5 separate regions of the Homo sapiens genome follow, and all the other regions are linked to region 1. Evidence: promoter capture Hi-C in 16 types of primary human blood cells and fetal thymus (Javierre and others, 2016). All regions are on one chromosome and are shown on one strand. Each heading gives the region's core, a stretch centred on a gene start or on the middle of the fragment in contact. The rest is flanking DNA. Distances are from core to core; before and after follow the strand shown.

Region 1 (3,877 bases), core at 945-3,444:
GAGACCAGCCTGGCCAACGTGGTGAAACCTGTCTCTAATAAATATACAAAAATTATCCCGGTGTGGTAGCGGGGGGGCCTGTAATCCCAGCTACTCAGGAGGCGGAGGCAGGAGAATTGTTTGAACCTGGGAGGCGGAGGTTGCAGTGAGTCAAGATTGCGCCACTGCACTCCAGCCTGGGCGACAGAGTGAGACTCCTTCTCAAAAAAAAGAAGAAAGTTGGGGCGTGGTGGCTCACACCTCACTACAGGAGGCTGAGGTGGGTAGATCACTTGAGGTCAGGAGTTCCAGACCAGCCTGGCCAACATGGTGAAACCCCTTGTCTCCTAAAAATACAAAAGTTAGCCAGGTGTGGTGGCGTGTGCCTGTAGTCCCAGCTACTGGGGAGGCTGAGGCAGAAGAATTGCTGGAACCCAGGAGGTGGAGGCTGCAGTGAGCCAAGATCGTGCCACTGCACTCCAGGCTAGGCAACACAGCCAGACTCCATCTCAAAAAAAAAAAAGTTTCAGATTTAGGAGCATTCTGGATTTCAGATTCAGTATGCTCAACTTGTAATTGTAGTAGTCTATGAGGAAACAAAAAGCATGTGCTTAATGCATAATACATGTCAGACTGCTGTTATTCTCCAGAGTCATCCATAATAAACACTTAAAATTTCCTGAAATTAACAGAAAGATGTCTCCTGCTACCCTGGTACAAGGAACACTAGGTATATTGCTCTTATTTCCTAAAAAACAGACATTAGCAGCAACGAAAATTTACTGTGCACTTACTGTGTACTAGGCACTGCATTAAAAGCTTTATGTGTTAATGCATTTCATCCTTTGCCATTCTTCAAAAGTACTATTAGTATTTCCTCGGAAAGATTTAGTAAGTTGGCAAAGATCACAGAGCTACTAAGTTGGTGGAGAAAATCGTAGAAATCACAAACAGAGGAGGTAACATCATCTCCACTATCAGCCTCTAACCTCTAAAACACTTCCAACCACTGAGGGGCCTTTCCTGGGTATCACCTTGATTCCCAACAAGAGAACAACGCTGACTCCTAAGCCAAGAGACAATTCTTTAATTTTCTTTATTTCTTATTTTTTTTGAGACAGAGTCTCGCTCTGTCGCCCAGGCTGGAGTGCAGTGGTACGATCTCGGCTCACTGCAACCTCCACCTCCAGGTTCAAGCAATTCTCCTGCCTCAGCCTCCCAAGTAGCTGGGATTACAGGAGCACACCACCACGCCCAGCTAATTTTGTATTTTTAGTAGAGGCAGGGTTTCACCATGTTGGTCAGGCTGGTCTCAAACTCCTGACCTCAGGTGATGCGCCCGCCTCGGTCTCCCAGTGCTGGGATTACAGGCCGTAAGCCACCGCGCCCAGCTTAATTTTCTTTCACATTTAATACAATGCAAAGCATTCCCTTTTTAAAGCTCTGCCAGGTGCAGATCTTTGTATCCAGTCATCAGCCCAATCTACTGAAAAGAAATGGACGAGAGTAATAGCAAGAGATCCAAACTCTTATTTTAAATCCAAATAAATTTATTGCTTGTCTGCAAAGTGCTTGACACTGAGCTGACTGCCATATTCCTCAGTTCATGCTCACAGCAACCTTGGAGACAGATACAATTATTATTCCCATTTTGCGGATGAGGTAAACGAGGCCCAAATTTGAATGCTATGCCCGAGAGCATACAGCTAGTTACTGGAGGACTCCAGACCCAGGAAGCCTCTCTCCTACCACAATCTCCTAGAAAGTGCTGGCTCTAAATCTACTGCTCTGATAAGGCAGCTAGACCCCAACTCGCACCCAACTGGGTGCCATCTGCGCCCTGGACCCCAGCTTCCCGTCAACGCTAGGGCAGAGGCACTCACCCAGCCGCACGTATTCCGGTAAGGGCTCCTTGAACCGCAGCTCGTAGGGCAGGACAGCGAGCCGCCTGCGTGTGGCCTTGTCCCGAATCTCAGTGACCACCTCCCGGATGGTGTAAATGTTCTTCCCGATGTCCTGCGGACAGAACGCCCCAGCTCAGACCCACCCGCACCAAGCAACGCTCCGCGCGACTCCACGCACTCCGGGAGGGGCGGCCAGCCCAGATCTCTCTCGTCCCGGAGGGAGCTCCCCGTACCTGCAGAGCCGCATGCCGCAGGAAAGCCCCAGCATCCGCCACAACGTGCTCCACTGGAGCCATGTTGGCTGCGTGAGAGGGGAGCGCGCATGCGCACGGAGCTTGCGCCGGCTCCTATGTCCAAGTCTGGGCCTCTGGGAACCAGGAAGAGCAGCCGCGACTTAGCTGCGCCTCCTGGCGGCCGCGCCAGCACCTCCCTGCTCTACTCGCGCGCATGCGCAGCGACGCCGCCCGCATAGCCAGAGAAGTGTGGGCGGGGTCAAACCTTGGGGGACACCTGGGAAATCGGCTTCAGCATCTAGACCTTAGTGCCTTCTTCACCTTTGAAGATAAAACCTGCCAGGTGTAGTGGTGCGCGCCTAGAGTCCCAGCTATTAAGGAGGCTGAGGCGAAAGGATTGCCTGAGCCCTGGAATGTGAAACCAGCCTGGGCAACATAGAGAGACCCCCATCTCTTCAATAAATAAATAAATTTAAAACCTGTATATATTCTTATGGTTAAAAGTCAATCAATACAGATTACCTAATTTCGTTATCACAGCACCCCTATGAGATAGGTACTGTTTTTTTTTAAAGGCTTAAAATGTATTTTAATAGGTCGATGCTGCATTACTGCTCCAGTTCTCAGAAAAACTCCAAATATATCAGAGACAAATCAAATACAATACACCAATGGAAAAAAAAGGCACAGCATGACTACCTAAGATAGGCGAGTCTAAGAGCTACTGTCAGACCTTCAGTATACAGTAACCCTGTTCCCAAGATTGTACTAGGCCTATCAAGAAAAGCTGTGAACAGCAGTATCATAGACACAAAAGGGTCATTCCTGGGTGTCCTCACCCAAGAAAAAGATGGAGGCAAGTTAACACAAGATTTTTTTTTAAAGATATACTAAAATGAAAATCTCTAAGAGAAAATGTCTTCTTTAGGACATGAAGGGGTAATATATGGGATATAATAGAACCGTATGTACGTTGCCTGTGACCTTTGTGGACGTTTACCTGAATTCTCACCTGGGAGTGAATGGAGCAATGCGGCTAAGGTCATTGGGGGATGTTTGGTTTTTGTGGTGTATGTGGCAGTTTCTCTGGGACTGGGGGAGTGTAAGGATAAGAAAGCAAGTGAGGTTGGGCACGGTGGCTCACCCCTGTAATCCCAGCATTTTGGGAGGCTGAGGCAGGGGATCACGAGGTCAGGAGTTCAAGATCAGCCTGGACAAGCTTGAACCCGAGAGGCAGAGATTGCAGTGAGCCGAGATCGTGCCACTACACTCCAGCCTGGGCGACAGAGTAAGACTCCATCTCGGGGGCAGGGCAAGCAAATGAAACAAGATGGACAAAAAAAAAAAAAAAAAAAAACAACAAACAAACCAAAAAAACAGAATGATCAAGATTAATGGGCTCTAACTGGATCTACTTTGCCATGGTTTCCCCAGGCCCTCAACAATCACATTTGAGACTTCAGGAATGCACCACACAGAACTGATTAAATAATATACTACATAGAATTGACTTGTTTAATACCACCCCTCCCTTGTCCTCTGCCTCCAGCATACTCCCTAGAGTAGTACAGGCAGGGTAGATCTAACTATTGGAAGGAATCCCTAACACTTTTCCAGGGTAGAATTCTGGCTGGTCCAAAAAGGGTCCTTCTTTTAAGGGTTTTGAGAAACTAGACACTGCAACTTATTAGTATCGGCGACGTTTGTTTGGAGCAAATTCAGCTCCAGGAGCTGCATGGTTGAATGCAGGAGGAGTTTCAC
Region 2 (3,877 bases), core at 472-2,971, 390 kb before region 1:
CATCTTTGCCACTTTTAGCTGTGTGACTTCAGGTGAGCTAAGAACTTTTCTGAGCCCTTCTCCTCTGTGTAATGGGGCTAATATATCATCACCTCACAGAGTGAGGATTGTAGTGACTCAGTAAGATGATACATGAAAGTGCTCTGCCCCCAGAAAGCACTTCATCAACAACGGCTTTTCTTCCCTTTAAAGGACAAATGGGATTTGGACAAGCAATGATGAAGGGATGACGGTCCACTGTGGGGAATGAGAGGAAGCAAAAGTACAGTGGTAGAAACAAACAACATGTTCCAGAGAGCAAGCAGGCCAGTCTGCCTGGAGGGAGGATCCACCACAGGACACAAAGGGAAGCAAAACTCAAAGCCAGGATGAGAATCACAATGGGGAGCAAAATTAAAGTATTCTAGCCACTGCCCCACAGTACCTAGCAGGACATGGGAGATTAGTAAGTATTCACTGAACTTGCCAAGTCTCAAATGCTCAGAAGGGTGCAAAATTATACATATTCATCAGTCTCTTTTTAAGGGTCAAAGTATAATGTGGCCCAATGCAAACAAATTTCTTTTAACACACAAGACTAATGTTTAGAAGTCAAGACACTCAGATGTTTGCTAAAAATGAAAGCAGCGATGAGTAGGAGGCTCTGAAACCTTTCCATTCCCACTCATGCCCTAGTGCAAGGCTTGGAAGCCCACATGCGGGGCTTCAGAACCGGCAGGGATGGCTACGTCGTCACTGGCCACTCCTGCGTCAAGTTCTAGCAGTCTGAGCAAGCCTTGGTGGTGAGTAACTTAGCTGAAAGTTACTTCATTCACGGAAGTAATACCAGGCCCAACCAGGACCACCAACCAGCCCCAAAATTTCTACAAAGAAGGTCTTCATACTTGGGATTCTTCTCTCCAGGGAGGGGTTGGTTGAGAACGGTGGGCTTGGATGGTGGCGCTGAAGCGGCCTCCTGGGAGGAGTTGAGGCCTGCGCTGGGCTCAGTACTCTGGCTGTCCTCCTCCAAGACCAATCTGCTTATTGTCATGCGCTTGTTCTTGGGCTGCAGTTCCGAGCCACCCTCACCGTCAGCCGGGGCTGAACTTTCGTTTTCATCTTTTCTGGGTCTCTTGTTTTTGAGGGCTGGTGATGCTGGGAGAGCTTGAGTAGGAAGAACCAGATCCTTCTGGTCCAGTTTTGCAAAGGCTGCCTCAGAATCCTGTGCACCAGACAGAGTCTTGAAAGCTGCTTTCAGAGTCATCATTCCAATGGTGGTTGGAGGATTCCGTAGCTGCCTGCAAATCAAGCATAGGCACAAAGATGTTTTTCACCACTGATGATGCTCATCCAAACAGCCACAACTTTTTTGAAGTTTGAAGCTTCAAATTCCAGTTGAGGAGGCTTTAAATGTGATATGTAAGTTGTATTATGAATTTAAAACTCCAAGTTAGAGAACCTTTATTTTACTTCTCATTTTATTTTTAGAGATAGGGTCTGGGTCTGTCCTAGACAGTAGATAGGACAGAGAGATAGGATACAGTGGCACAAACACAGCTCACTGTATCCTAGAACTCCTGGGCTCAAGCGATCCACCCACCTCGGCCTCCCAAAGTGCTGGGATTACAGGCGTGATCCACCACACCCGGCCTACAACACACTTAAGAGCAGGATCTTGAGAATTCTCAGAGTAAAAGGCATGCCACACAGTCTTGGAACAATGAGAAACTGCCTTTTAAAAATAAAGTTCATCTATCATTTGGAACAGTTAGTATGCTTTAGGGAAAAACTGTTAGGAGAGGGGGCAAACTGGCAGCCTGCAGGCCAAATCCATCTGGCAGCCTGTCTTGTTGTCTAACCAACATGAAAAAAAATTTTTTAAGTGGATCAACTGTTAACATCCAAAAACTGGGAAATCTCATGGAAAACCCTGGACATCTCATACAAAAATCTGAGCACCTGAAGCCTGAGCATCCTTGGATACTCCCACAGAGCAACAACCACAAGAAGCTGAAAAGCACATCCCCTGGTTCCCAGCCCCATGCTCTCAGCCTAGGTCCACTTTGTTCCTTTAGGTTTCCTAACCGGCCCTCAAAGGGCATCTAAGCTTGTGACCCCTGCTTTAGGAACTGGTTTTGGGATTCGACTCACAGATCTGAGCAGTGCTTCCTGAATGTATTAAGAGATTAGGTGTCCACAAGAAAAGTACTGAGTCAATACGGGGGAGGCAAGGAGAGAGAAATGGTGAAAGAGCCTTTGAGGAATGGCCAGTCAGGAAGTTGTCAGGGACCCCAGGCATCCTGTTTCCTTATCTTCCCAGGGTGTGCAGTCTCCCCCAGTGCCTTGTATGAGTAACCTCGTAACACGTTAGTAGGTCGGAGTGCTGAGAGGAACTGATCCTGGCCTAAGGAGGAGACTGCTTCCAGCGACCACCCTAGTGTTTTACCCAAGATCACAAGAGAGCATCTTTTTACCTTGCGGGTTCTCTGGGTGGCTTTTCCACAGGCCCTGGTGCTGGCTGTTTATCTTCCTTCCCTGTACTTGAGGCAGCGGACTCAGATTTCAAAGCCTTTTTGGCCATCTGGGAAAGGAAGGATGTCATCAGGAAGAAGAGGCCACAGAATTGCATTAATTCTCTGCTTCTTTCACCAAGAATATACTCAATATGCAAACAAGTTCACTTACAAATCCAATCTAGGCATAAAACGAAGGACATAAAATGGGAGAGAACTTGTAAGACTTATAAATCAAGCTTTTTTTATTCAAACTTAAGATAACTAATACATTTTTTTTGAGAGGGAGTCTTGCTCTGTCGCCCAGGCTGCAGCACAGTGGTGCAATCTCGGCTCACTGCAATCTCCACCTCCTGGGTTCAAGCAATTCTCCCATCTCGGCCTCCCAAGTAGCTGGGATTACAGGCGCCCACCACCATGTCCAGTTAATTTTTGTATTTTAGTAGAGACGGGGTTTCACCATGTTGGCCAGGCTGGCCTCGAACTCCTGACCTCAAGTGATCTGCCCGCATCAGCCTCCCATAGTGCTGGGATTACAGGCATGAGCCACCATGCCCGGCAATAAATGTTCATACTAATATCTTCCAGTTTGTGTATAGAATTTTTATAACTGTTTCTACAAATGTTTTGCCTTATTAACAACTGTTTGAGAATCCTTATCTATATAACACAAAGAGCCCTGAGTAGGCTAATCAGGGCTCTTTGTGTTATATAGATAAGGATAGTTTCCAGTTACCTGGAATGGAAAGGAAAGGACCCTAGGCCAGGCTCAACTATCTTGACACCTGCTGCCTGAATATCCCAAACTACCTGCTTATAAATAATCTGAGATTTGCCAAACGACTGCTAAGATCATGGACACTATCCTAATATGGGCCTGGCAGATCTGTTACGAGACAGAATATTTTCCACATTCTCAAAGTCCTGGTTTCTTTTGCCCAGGCTGAAGTGCAGTGGCACAACCACAGCTCACTGGCAGCCTCAAGTGATCTTCCCACTTCAGCCTCCCAAGTAGCTGGGACTACAGGCACGCGCCACCACACCTGGCTAATTTTTGTATTTTCTGTAGAGAAGGGGTTTCACCATGTTGCCCAGGGTGGTCTTGAACTCCTAAGCTCAAGCAACCTGCCTGCCTTGGCCTCCCAAAGTGCTGGGATTACAGGTGTGAACCACTGTACTGGGCCAAAGTCCTGGTTTCAAAAACAAAACAAAACCACTCTCACTCAGTGTTCCTTCACCACAGTCTCCCATCTATGACAGCCTGGGTCTAGTTCTTCCCTATGCTGTCCTGAGCCTCACTGCTTCCATTCTTTTATCTCTTTGATCCAATTAAAGAATGTTTTCATTTGGCTTCTTTCAACTTTATACTTTCAGTGACACCTTTC
Region 3 (3,877 bases), core at 535-3,034, 370 kb before region 1:
AGTTTATCTCCTTGGTTTATTATAAACAAGGGTGACCAAACCCTAGGCCAGAGTTACTTAAGGCCCTTGTAGAGTGCTCCCGAATGGTGCAGTAACCTCCAAAATGTCAGAGCTTCAATGCCAAAGCCACAAGGAAGACCACCCAAATCACAAAAACTGAGCAACTGCCATTACTTCCCAAGCCTGGGTGGGAAAGGAGACACCTGAAGAAATAACGTCTGTGTGTGTGCTTTCTTGCTTGCTCAATCTCTCCCCATTGCTGTTTTCCTCTGCCCCACACAGTAAAGAGTAAGTGCTGTATCCTCAAAGACCCTTGATTTTTGGTCAAAGAAAAAAGATATAAAAATAGAGCCTTACAGCTTCCTTGACCAGTTTTCTACTGGATTCGACCACTGCTTCTGTCAGTGTAAATTCCGTTTTAATCATCTCCAGCACATTGATAGCTGATTCCAGTGGTGTGAGCTCAGCCTCCATATCAAAGGAACAGTCTAGGACAAAGCACAGTTTTCATTTTTAAGCTCTTTTCTAAGGGTAAAAAAGTTATGTCCAAAAATTATATATATATATTTATGGAAATGGAGCATGCAAATATGGTAAGATTTGCATTTAATTTTTTGACATATTTGCTACAGGTTGACATACACGATAAGGGTCCAAATTCAAATCAATGAATTTAACGTGACCATTTTTTAACACCTGTCAAGACAGGCAAAAAAATTATTTTTAAATACCTGCATTTGCCTCTCAAATTCAGAATATACCCATCCTCCTCAGATACGAGTGGCAAGAAACTGACAACAGCTAAATAGCTTTCAAGTTAAATTCAGAGGGGAAAAATGTCAGAGTACTTCCACTCTGAAAAACTCTCTACCATGGGGGAAAAAAGATGTCCATATGAACATAACTCACTTTAGACAGGAGCAAAGTTGGGGTGAGCAATTAACAGGTGGGAGAAGATTTAAAAAAAACACAGAAAAGCAGCCAAGACAACCTTAACCGGAGAAAACTAGAGCCAGTCGAGCCAGAAAACAGACCCATCGTAGAATGAAAAAGACCACTCTGATGGAAACTATCGCACTTTAACCTGGAATCCTTCAGTTCTAGATATAAGTTTTAAAACAAAACCCTACGCAAGTAAGCCCAGAGAAGAACACAAAAATAGCCATACCTAAATTTTCCCCTTCTTCAATCCGCGACAGACACTGCATAACCCGCAGCAATCGGGACACGGTGTGCTCCTTCCCCAAGGGCCTGACAAGCAAAGCTGGGAGAGAAGACATCGTTGGCTGGGCGACCCCCAGTCCCGACTCCCGGTCCCCCGGACCCCCTTCCCCGGCGCTCCAACCCCCCTCCCCCGGCCCGGCCCTCACCCTGCATGATGTCCCGGATCTGTCTGAAGTCCCCGTACCGGCTACCCCGAAAGGCCCGCAGCGCCTCGTGGAAGTAGAACTTGAGCACCCAGCGATTGACTGCCTCTTCCAGCCGTGCCTCCCCCGCGCCGCGCTCCGCCGGGCCCCCCAGCCCCGGCTCGTGGCGCCCCCGCCGGGCCCGCCCGCTACTGCGGGACGCCCGCCTGCCAGCTGCCCGCCCGCTGCCGTCGCTACTCCCGCCTCCTCCCGCCATCGTGTCCGATCGCCGCGCGCCCTCCCCGCCCTCCCGGCCGGGCCGCTTCCTCGGCTGTGACGCCGCTGGGTCACGCACGACGCCCGGGCCGGAAGCGGGGCCCGCCGTCCCGGCTCCCGCGGCCATGATAGAAACAGCGTTCCGAGCCGCCCGCGGGCTTCTGGGAGGGAAAGGACCGGAGGGCCCGGCCCCCTTCTCAGACGCCGTAGTTCCCGATGTGCCGGCCGCAATGCCTCCTGGGGCTTGAAGTCCACACCGCCCAGGCCGGTGAACCCGGCGGGTTTTGCAGTCAACTTCGCTCCGAATTTACAGAAAACAGCTACTATGCTAGGGACGCGGAACAGTGTATTAGAGACTGAAAAACAGGCCGGGATCGGTGGCTCTACGCCTGTAATCCCAGCACTTTGGGAGGCTGAGGCGGGTGGATCACCTGAGGTCGGGAGTTCGAGACCAGCCTGACCAACATGGAGAAACCCCATCTCTACTAAAAATACAAAATTAGCCAGACGTGGTGGCGCATGCCTGTAATCCTAGCTACTCAGGAGGCTGAGGCAGGAGACTCGCTTGAACCCGCGAGGCGGAGGTTGCGGTGAGCCGAGATCGCGCCATTGCACTCCAGTCTGGGCAACAAGAGCGAAACTCCGTCTCAAAAAAAAGAAAAGAAAAAAAAGAAAACCAAATATGTGCACCTTATTAAACACTTTGAAAATTGTGGAAGAGAGCATACACAGAGGAAAGTCTTTAAACAAATTTGTATTTTAACAAATACTGTAATTATAAAGCAAAGACCAGTGTGATACCAATAAATAGAATGCACCTGGCAACCCAGCCGCTAGACATATACTCTTTGTAATCACAAAAATAACACATTTTGTTGTAGAACAATTAGAAAAATAAGCAAAAGGACCACCCATAGTCCCATAGAGGGTCTGAGTCACTTTCAGATATCTCTGATACTCTTGGAATTCACCAACTGGCACTTGACCAAATGGAGAACCTCCAGCTCAGACCTTAGTTCAGGATGGTGGTTGTGGGTGCCTCTTCCTGAGAGGCCCAGTAACTGGTCTAGCTTCAAAGATTGTCCTACCAGCCCCACTAGTCTGGAACCTGCAAAGATCCAGTTTGGGGCCACTCAAAGACAACTCAGAAGTGCAGGTGGCCATGTCCTTGAGGATGTGAATCCCATGCTGGACCTGTGAATTAATATCAGGACCTTAATATGTATAGTATCCTGGAAAGCCAAAAGTTCTATGAGGTACACGTTCCGGGATGAGAGAAGAGGCCTCTAGGTCTGACTGATCTTTGGTGATCATAGCTGCTTTTCTTTTTTTTCTTTGTTTTTCTTGAGATGGAATCTCGTTCTGTCGCCCAAGCTGGAGTGCAGTGGCACGATCTCGGCTCACTGCAAGCTCCGCCTCTGGGTTCATGCCATTCTCCTGCCTCAGCCTCCCGAGTGGCTGGGACTACAGGCGCCCACTACCATGCCCAGCTAATTTTTTGTATTTTTAGTAGAGACGGGGTTTCACTGTGTTAGCCAGGATGGTCTCCATCTCCTGACCTCGTGATCCGCCCGCCTCGGTCTCCCAAAGTGCTGGGATTACAGGCGTGAGCCACTGCGCCCGGCCCATGGCTGCTTTTCCATTCCAGCCTGCTTGCCTTAACCAGGAACCAAATCACTTGCCTTTATTTTAGTTTTTTTGAGAAAGTTTCACTCTGTAATGCAGGTTGGAGTGCAGTGGCACAATCGTGCTCACTGCAGCCTTGAACTCCTGGGCTCAAGTGATCCTCCTGCCTCAACCTCCCAAGTAGCTAAGACTACCAGCGTGTGCCACCATGCCTGGGTAATTTGAAATTTTTTTTCGTAGAATTAGGGGTCTTGCCGTGTTGCCCAGGCTGGTCTCGAACTCCTGGCCTCAAGCACTCCTCCCACCCTGGTCTCCTAAAGTGCTGGGGATTTCAGGGTTGAGCTACTATGCCTGGTGCCAAATCACTTGCCTTTCAATTCTAACTTTTTTTTTTTTTTTCTGAGACAGAGTCTTGTTCTGTTGCCCAGGCTGGAGTGCAGTGGCACGATCTTGGCTCACTGCAACCTCCGCCTCCCGGGTTCAAGTGATTCTCCTGCCTCAGCCTCCCGAGTAGCTGGGATTACAGGCGTGTGCCACCACGCCTGGCTAATTTTTGTATTTTTAGTAGAGACGGGGTTTCACCATGTTGGCCACGCTGTCTCGAACTCCTGGCCTCAAGTGATCCACCC
Region 4 (3,877 bases), core at 946-3,445, 350 kb before region 1:
AAGGAAACCAGGAAAAGACACAAGAGGTGTCCAAGTTCAGCTTCAGGAGGTCTCTTTTCTATGCTCTTCCACTCCCCCCCTTCCTCCCACACAGATGTTCCCTATAAATGAGCTTGGCTCTATGCAGCTCATATCAGAATGGGATTGTCCAAAACAGTTTGAAGAGAGGAACTCACACTTCCTGAAATGATTATCTCTTGACATAAATTCAAATTTAGGAAGGAACCGTCTAAGCCTTTTATAAATACCCATGATGCCCATATGTGACTCAAGACTGATTTTGTTTCCTCCTGTCCTCTTGGTACCTCTTTTATCTTACTATAGTGATGCTATGGCTTCGGTTCATGACTACAGTGAGTGACAGCTGGGATCTGGCCCTTTCCTCCTGCCCCAATTCATAAATGGTGGGCGTTTCTCATATCTCGAGGGCCCAGGTGCTTGGAAATACTGCCAAATATTCCTTTCAACTTAAAAAAAATGTAATTATACTGGATTAGGTTATGCATTCACATAATTTAAAAATTCTGAGGATACAAAGAGTATAAAGTGAAATTTGTTTCCCCATCTATGTTGTCCAGTTGCCCAGTTCCCTTCCCCAGTTCTACCAGTTCCTAGAATACCTTCCCCTAGATAGATATTTTGTACATGTTTAAAATAACATGTTTTAAATATTTTTAGTAGAGACAGGGTTTCATCATGTTGGCCAGGCTTGTCTTTACAGGCCCAGCATGGTGGCTCACGCCTATAATGCTAGCACTTTGGGAGGCAGAGGCGGGTAGATTGCCTGAGCTCAGGAGTTCAAGACCAGCCTGGCCAATGTAGTGAAACTCCGTCTCTACTAAAATACAAAAAATTACCCAGGTGTGGTGGCGCATGCCTGTAGTCCCAGCTACTTGGGAGGCTGAAGCATGAGAATCTCTTGAACCCGGGAGGTGGAAAGTGCAGTGAGTTGAGATCGTGCCAGTGCACTCCAGCTTGGATGACAGGATGAGACTCTGTCTCCAAAAAAATTTTAAAAATAAAATAACACATTTATATTTTCTCCCCTCCTTTTATTTTTTTATTTTACATTAGCAATAGAACACTATATGGGCCAGGTGCAGTGGCTCATGCCTGTGGGCCGAGGTGGGTGGATCACCTGATGTCAGGAGTTCAAGACCAGCCTGGCCAACATAGTGAAACCTCGTCTCTATTAAAAATACAAAAATTAGCTGAGCGTGATGGTGGGCGCCTGTAATCACAGCTACTCGGGAGGCTGAGGCAGGAGAATCGATTGAACCCGGGAGGCAGAGGTTGCAGTGAGCTGAGATGGCGCCATTGCACTCCAGCCTGGGCGAAAAAGCGAAACTCCATCTCTATCTCAAAAAAAAAAAAAAAAAAAAAAGAAAAGAAAAAAAAGAAAGAAAGAAAAAGAAATTAGAGAAGTATCTGGGATTTAGAAAGTTCAGAAAACTTGGAGAAGGGCCTTTGGCCCATGCGGTGGTTACTGAGATGCTCATTGTTTACGTGCAGTTGACTTCAAGATAGAAGGTTCAACCTCAGTGTCAAGCTCAACCTCCAGGACCCTCTTGGAGACTTCCAAGACCTAGGATGGCTGGGCATTCAGTGCTTTGGGAGCTGCCATCCTTCACCTGCTAGGGTTCTGTGTGGGATCGGGGTGGGGGTCTCTGTTACTCAGGAAACTGCCCTCCCTTCCTCCCAATTAGATTTGCACTTTATTACTTTTTTTCTTTAGCTTTTTTCGAGATGGACTTATACTTAAAAAAACCTGCTCTTAGATAATGGGTGGCAGGGGGGTAGAGGGGATTTGAGAAGACCTGGAAAATTCCCAGGTCTCCACTAAATAAGAAAACTGGAGAGTAAGGGGACTGGAGAGGAACGGAGAAAGAAATGTATTTTCTTTTCTTCTTGTAATCAGAACTGTAGCTTGCAATATTTTTTTCCCAAGCTTCTAAGAGAGTTTTGCAAACAATTGGAGTAATTAAAAGTTCTCAGAAGTAGCCGATGGTGCCCTTTTCACCGAGGGAATGTGGGCCAAGCATGATATATTAAAAGAGAGGGAGCTGCTCTATTGAAGTTAAAAATAATCTGTCACATGGCTAATTTGTTGGAATGCAGCAATAAAGGGCTGTGGGCAGAGGGAGAGCTGGAAGCAGCTGGGAAGTTTGCAGGCAGAGTGCACGCCCTGGGGACTGTGTTTGTAGGGAGAGAAAACAGTGTTACAGCTGCCTTAGGGCACCTTATCAGAAAACCCACAAAATGGGCAGGAAGAAGGAAGAGTAGGTTTGAGTCCAGAGCATGACCTTTGGGCTTATCAGACAGTGAAGGGATGGGTCAGAACTTGTCACCTGTGTTCACGGGATGCTGATTCACTCAGCAAGGATGAAGTCTTTTCAGATCCCCCTGCATTTGAATCCGTTTCAAAGGAATACATAATTCAAAGGAAGCTTTTGATCCGAAATCCATGGGAAAACCAATCTATAGGGTCTTGAGCGAAAAAAGTTCAAGCCAGGAATACAAATCCTAGTTTGGGGGATTGGGGATATTATAATTTTTGAAATGTTAGAGTTGAAAGAGAGAAAACAAATTATTTAGTATAATCCCTGAATTTTCCCTTCCTTCCTTCCTTCCTTCTTTCTTTCTGTCTTCTTCTTTTTTTTTTTTTTTTTTGAGACAGAGTCTTGCTCTGTTGCCTGGGCTGGAGTGCAGTGGCTCGATCTTGGCTCACTGCAACCTCTGCCTCCCGGGTTCAAGTGATTCTCCTGCCTCAGCCTCCTGAGTAGCTGGGACTACAGGCATGCACCACTGCGCCCACCTAATTTTTGTATTTTTAGTAGAGATGGGGTTTCACCATGTTGGTTAGCCAGGATGGTCTCGATCTCTTGACCCTGTGATCTGCCTGCCTCGGCCTCCCAAGTGCTGGGATTACAGGTGTGAGCCACCACGCCCGGCCTACTCCCTGAATTTTCTACATGAGGCAACAGGCTCAAAGAGGTTGATTTGCTCAAGGTCACTCAACCAGCAAGTAACAGAGCTAGATTCAAACCCAGGTCTTTAGCTAGAAAGGAAGGGCATAGTGGTTAGCAAATATAGGGTTCAGAATGCCCTGATGTCAAATCCTGGCTCTACCAGCAGGACCCTTGGGCAAGTTTCTAACTCCTCTCAGTGTTAGTTTCATCATCTGTAAGATGGGAATAACAATAGTACCCACTAGAATTGCTACAATGTATGTAAAGTGCTAAGTATGACATCCAGCCTAGAGGAAAGGCTTAATCAAACACTAGATGTTATCATGCCACAGCTTTTTCATCACCCTGCATCAAATTTCTAGAGCTTTCCGCAGATTAACTTGTCCAAACATCCTCTTTGGTTTGGGTGGGATTCTCTTTCTCCCTTTCCCACCTCCAACTCTCACCCATTATATATAAAGAAAAAGAGGGTGGCCGAACTTTAACCTCTCTATCCTCTGGTAGACACTTTCGCTAGCATTTCCTACATTGTAACACACCCATGAGACTTGTTTTCTCTTAAGCTACATGCCCTCCGGCCTGTATTTTCAGTATGGTTTCCAAGTTGCTGACAGGCAGAAACGGTGCCAACATGAAGAAGCAAGTATTGCTGCCCCAAATGCAGCAGCAAGATGTGTTTGAATGTTTTAGAATAGATGATCATTTTTCAAATTCATAATGGGCACCGCTCACAGAGGGGGCTCTTAACATACAAGGCAGGTCTGGGCTCATAGTTAGCACTTCTGGAAAGTGGAGGCCGAGTTCTGTGTGTGCACATACCAAAGAACAGGAGCCTACCTCCAGCAGCTTGGGCAAAAGCAAAGGTGAATTTAGTGGCTCAAGTAACCAGAAGACCAGATTTCATTGAT
Region 5 (3,877 bases), core at 1,103-3,602, 330 kb before region 1:
AAAAATCAAATATTGAAAAATATTAACAGTTGGTAAACCTAAGCTAAAAGTATATGGTCATTCATTGTATTATTCTTGTAACTTACTTATTTGAAATTCTAAAAACATTTTCAAATATAATGTTACAGGTATATATCACTTAAGTGCTAGAATTTGTAATTTTTTTATTTTTTATTTTTATTTATTTATTTTTATTTTTTTGAAACAGGGTTTCGCTCTGTCATCCAGGCTGGAGCACAGTGGTGCGATCATACATCACTGCAGCCTCGACTTCCCAGGCTCAAGCCATCCCCAGATCTCAGCCTCTCAAATATCTGGGATTACAGTTGTGTGCCACCATGCGTAGATAATTTTTGTATTTTTTGAAGAGACAAGAGCCTCACTATGTTGCCCAGCCTGGTCTTGAACTCCTGGGCTCAAGTGATCTGTCCACCTCGGCCTCCCAAAGTGCTGGAATTACGGGGCTTGAGCCACCACATTCAGCCTGTAAATGTTTTTATTTCTTTCAGAGATTTTGTTTCTTATGTTATCTCTCTACTCCCAATGCCTATCATAAGACTTGTAACAGTAAATAGTAAATGTCTGGAATAAATGTAAATATTTGAATCTAGAGTTTGTGGAGGATCCTAAGAATCTTGTGAGATTGCTCTCATAGTGTCAGTCTAACTAGGGAGGTAAAATACGTAAAGTTAAAATTTACAGACGTAGCAGGCTTCCCAAAATAGTAATATGCTTTCTTAGGTACTACAAAGGGATGGAAGCACTGGAGCTCAAAACGGTAGGAGAAGTTTGAAAATAGAAGAAACTGAAGAGGAACTTGAAAAGCCGGTAGGCATTGAAAGGAAGAGGAGTCCTTGGGACAGCAATTGAGGGTAGAATGTGGAGTATCCCATGTTTCTACCACCATTCAGAATCCGATTTTCAAATGAATTCTGTGATGATCAGGATCAATCTGCACTATTTTAGTCTCTAAGTGATCTAAAATTAACTTGGTGGACCTGGGATGACCACGGATGTGGTTTTAAACCAGCAGGTTTCAGAGTCGGGGCGGGTGCAACAGGCTTATAAAGGGAATGGTGGAAAATATTATACGTTAGTGAAAGAGGTTGCGAATGGATTGTGGAGAGCCCTGAATGGTAGACTGCGAGAGTGACAGGATGAAAACGACGACATCATAGGAAGAGCAATCTGTCAGTTGTAATGGCAGTTAAAAAGTGGCGCACAACACTGTACCTTAACCAAACTTGGAATTCCAAAGTGCTGGGACCTCTAGCGGAGAGCAGTTGAGTTCAATTCTATTTTAGATCACGTAGAGACTAAAATAGTGCCGATTGATCCTGATCATCACAGAATTCGTTTGAAAATCGGATTCTGAATGATGGTAGAAACATAGGATACTCCACATTCTACCCCCAATTGCTGTCCGGGACAGCAATTGCCTTTCTAATCGACTGCCATGTTTAGCGATTACTATGCGCCAAGCGCTTTACAGGCACTCTCATTAAAATAGGCAAACCGGGCCAGGCGCGGTGGCTCACGCCTGTAATCCCAGCACTTTGGGAGGCCTACGCAGGCGGATCACCTGAGGTCAGGAGTTCGAGACCAGCCTGGCCAACATGGTGAAACCTACTCTCTACTAAAAATACAAAAATTAGCCGGGCGTGGTGGCGCATGCCTGTAGTTCCAGCTAGTCGAGAGGCTGAGGTAGGAGAATCGCTTGAACCTGGGAGGCGGAGTTTGCAGTAAGCCGAGATCGTGCCACTGCACTCTGGCCTAGGAGACAGAGCGAGAACTTGTCTCAAAAAAAAAAAAAAAAAAAAAAAAGGCAAACCCCTCTGTAAGAGAGTGCTTTATCAAGCCCATTTTACTGATGGGGAAATTGAGGAGAGACGGGATTGGCCAGATCACGACCTGGAGGCAGCAAAGATGTAAAATCAGGGTTGGGATACAGGCTGCGCCGGTAGTGTAGGGGATAGGAACTTTCTGAGACTCAGGAGAAAGCCACAGCGATGGGAAGGGAAGCAGAACACTGGAGACCCTAAAGGCCCACAGGCTGAGAGAAGTGGTACCTCTCCTGAAGTGACACCTGTCAGCACGCCTCTTTTGGGCGCCAGTCCAAAAATCGCGGTATCTGATTGGCGAGGTTGGAGGGGGCTGAACGACCCTAATTGGTTAGTTGGACCTCGAACCAGACTTTCATCTGGAGGATCGGGCGAGGAGTGGGCGGGATTTCGAACTGAGCCACTCCCTTCATTGGTGAAAAGAAAACGAACCAGGAACTATTCGGAAGTGTGATTGGCTGTTGCTAGGAACCGTCTCAAGGCCTTATGGGCCCTGGTTACGGAAGCCGAGGAAGGCTGAGCGCGGGCTCTCAAGGAAAGTAGTCGCGGAATCTCAGTTAGCGGTGGAGAGGCAGTATGTCCGGTTCAATGGCGACTGCGGAAGCTAGCGGCAGCGATGGGAAAGGGCAGGAAGTCGAGACCTCAGTCACCTATTACCGGTTGGAGGAGGTGGCAAAGCGCAACTCCTTGAAGGAACTGTGGCTTGTGATCCATGGGCGAGTCTACGATGTCACCCGCTTCCTCAACGAGGTGGGGCCTGGGAGGTGGGAGGCCTCTGAAGCTGCTGGGGCGAGGGGTGAAAAGGCTGTGTGGAGTGTATGTGGGAAGGAAGGGAGGCTTGGCTGGGGGCGATAAGGCGTAAGAAAGGGATCACGACCCTCAGAGGGAAACTGGGGTGGGATTGGGGGAGGGCTTTAGTTTGCATGCATTTCCAGTCAGCTCCGAGTTCTGGTGCCTTATGTAATATCATGTATTACTTATGTGTCGAGCATTTGCTGTGTGCTCAGCTAAACTCTAAGCCATCATTATCTTTATTTTACAGAAAGGGAAACTGAGGCTCACAGGTTGAGGACTCTCAGGGCCATAGAGTTAGCAGCTTAGATCCGTTGAACCTAGGTCTGAAGTGCACCCACATCTGTGCTTTTCCAGTGTGCCTTCTGAAGTAATACCGGTTTTGGTTTTCGTCTTCTAGAGTAGAAGCTGAGATTTCTCTCCACACGCTTCCCCATCTTGATTATGCCTCCACTGTTTTTTTTTCCCCCTAATCTGAGTTGACCTTGAGGCCAGAAACTCATAAATCAACCCTTTTTTTTTGTTTTTGACTCATGTTTTGTCATTTTTCTTAAATATTCAAGACTGTTTTATTTAATCTTCAAGTCTGTTGCATTACATCTCATTTTAAAAATTATTTTTGAGACCATGGTGCAACTAATTTTTTTTTTAAGGAAACAGGATAGACTTCTAAATATTTAAAACTTTATTGAGGTGTAATGTACATACGTAAATTGTGCCTATCTAAAATGTACATTTTGATGAGTTTTGAAAAATGTATTCATCCATGTTAAGACATAAACCATTTCCATCATTCTAAAAAGCTTCCTTTCCCTTTGCAGTCATTCTCTCCCAACCCCAGGCAACTAGTGATATGCAGCCGCTAAAGATTGGTTTGAAGCTTTGATTTTCGGTGTGTGTATGTTTGAAGCTTTGATTTTCGGTTTGTGTGTGATCATTTTATTTTGAGCAATAGATTAATGACTTGTGAAAGTTCACTTCTATTTCTCTGAAGCAAATATACTAGTGAAATATTTTTTCGATTAATTTGGGGCCTAAAAGAGAAATCTCTGCATCCTGACTTTTAATTCTAAAAACTTTTAAAATTTAAAAGTTTCCCCCAAAGAACATTATTTTTAATAAATCTTAATAGTGAACAATAATTTAACAAACTCAGAATTTACTAACTTCTTGCATTTGTATGGTGTATGGCATTTTATGCTTTTAAAAGTGCTTTCCGGTCGGGCGCGGTGGCTCACGCCTGT

What was found. Contacts are between HindIII fragments. The CHiCAGO score rates a contact against its expected background, and 5 or more counts as called.
Region 2: a fragment that was not itself captured here is called in contact with the fragment with the promoter of NOB1 in region 1 in 2 of 17 cell types (endothelial precursors and activated CD4 T cells); the score reaches 6.5 in endothelial precursors.
Region 3: a contact is called between the fragment with the promoter of TERF2 here and the fragment with the promoter of NOB1 in region 1, in 13 of 17 cell types (neutrophils, endothelial precursors, megakaryocytes and 10 more). The highest score is 13.9, in neutrophils.
Region 4: a fragment that was not itself captured here is called in contact with the fragment with the promoter of NOB1 in region 1 in 8 of 17 cell types (neutrophils, activated CD4 T cells, endothelial precursors and 5 more); the score reaches 11.4 in neutrophils.
Region 5: a contact is called between the fragment with the promoter of CYB5B here and the fragment with the promoter of NOB1 in region 1, in 2 of 17 cell types (neutrophils and activated CD4 T cells). The highest score is 7.2, in neutrophils.

The regions. Positions count from the first base shown.
Region 1 is chr16:69,752,732-69,756,608 of GRCh38, forward strand. NOB1 (NIN1 (RPN12) binding protein 1 homolog) reads right to left here and starts at 2,195. Exons shown (of 9, transcript NM_014062.3): 1 at 2,117-2,195; 2 at 1,863-1,995. The coding sequence starts at 2,179. It also overlaps the pseudogene NONOP1. RefSeq lists enhancers at 1,241-1,864, 1,865-2,487. The HindIII fragment of the contact is 2,537 bases long and covers 797-3,333 here.
Region 2 is chr16:69,365,923-69,369,799 of GRCh38, forward strand. TERF2 (telomeric repeat binding factor 2) reads right to left here. Exons shown (of 10, transcript NM_005652.5): 6 at 2,454-2,560; 7 at 885-1,277. Among named protein-coding and RNA genes, the nearest start is that of TMED6, 16 kb to the left of the region's middle. The HindIII fragment of the contact is 725 bases long and covers 1,360-2,084 here.
Region 3 is chr16:69,384,223-69,388,099 of GRCh38, forward strand. TERF2 (telomeric repeat binding factor 2) reads right to left here and starts at 1,785. Exons shown (of 10, transcript NM_005652.5): 1 at 1,371-1,785; 2 at 1,169-1,264; 3 at 358-488. The coding sequence starts at 1,749. RefSeq lists a silencer at 1,401-1,780. The HindIII fragment of the contact is 13,848 bases long and covers 1-3,877 here.
Region 4 is chr16:69,402,394-69,406,270 of GRCh38, forward strand. No RefSeq gene overlaps it. Among named protein-coding and RNA genes, the nearest start is that of TERF2, 18 kb to the left of the region's middle. The HindIII fragment of the contact is 499 bases long and covers 1,947-2,445 here.
Region 5 is chr16:69,422,267-69,426,143 of GRCh38, forward strand. CYB5B (cytochrome b5 type B) reads left to right here and starts at 2,353. Exons shown (of 5, transcript NM_030579.3): 1 at 2,353-2,591. The coding sequence starts at 2,418. RefSeq lists enhancers at 1,636-2,183, 2,184-2,731. The HindIII fragment of the contact is 7,938 bases long and covers 1-3,434 here.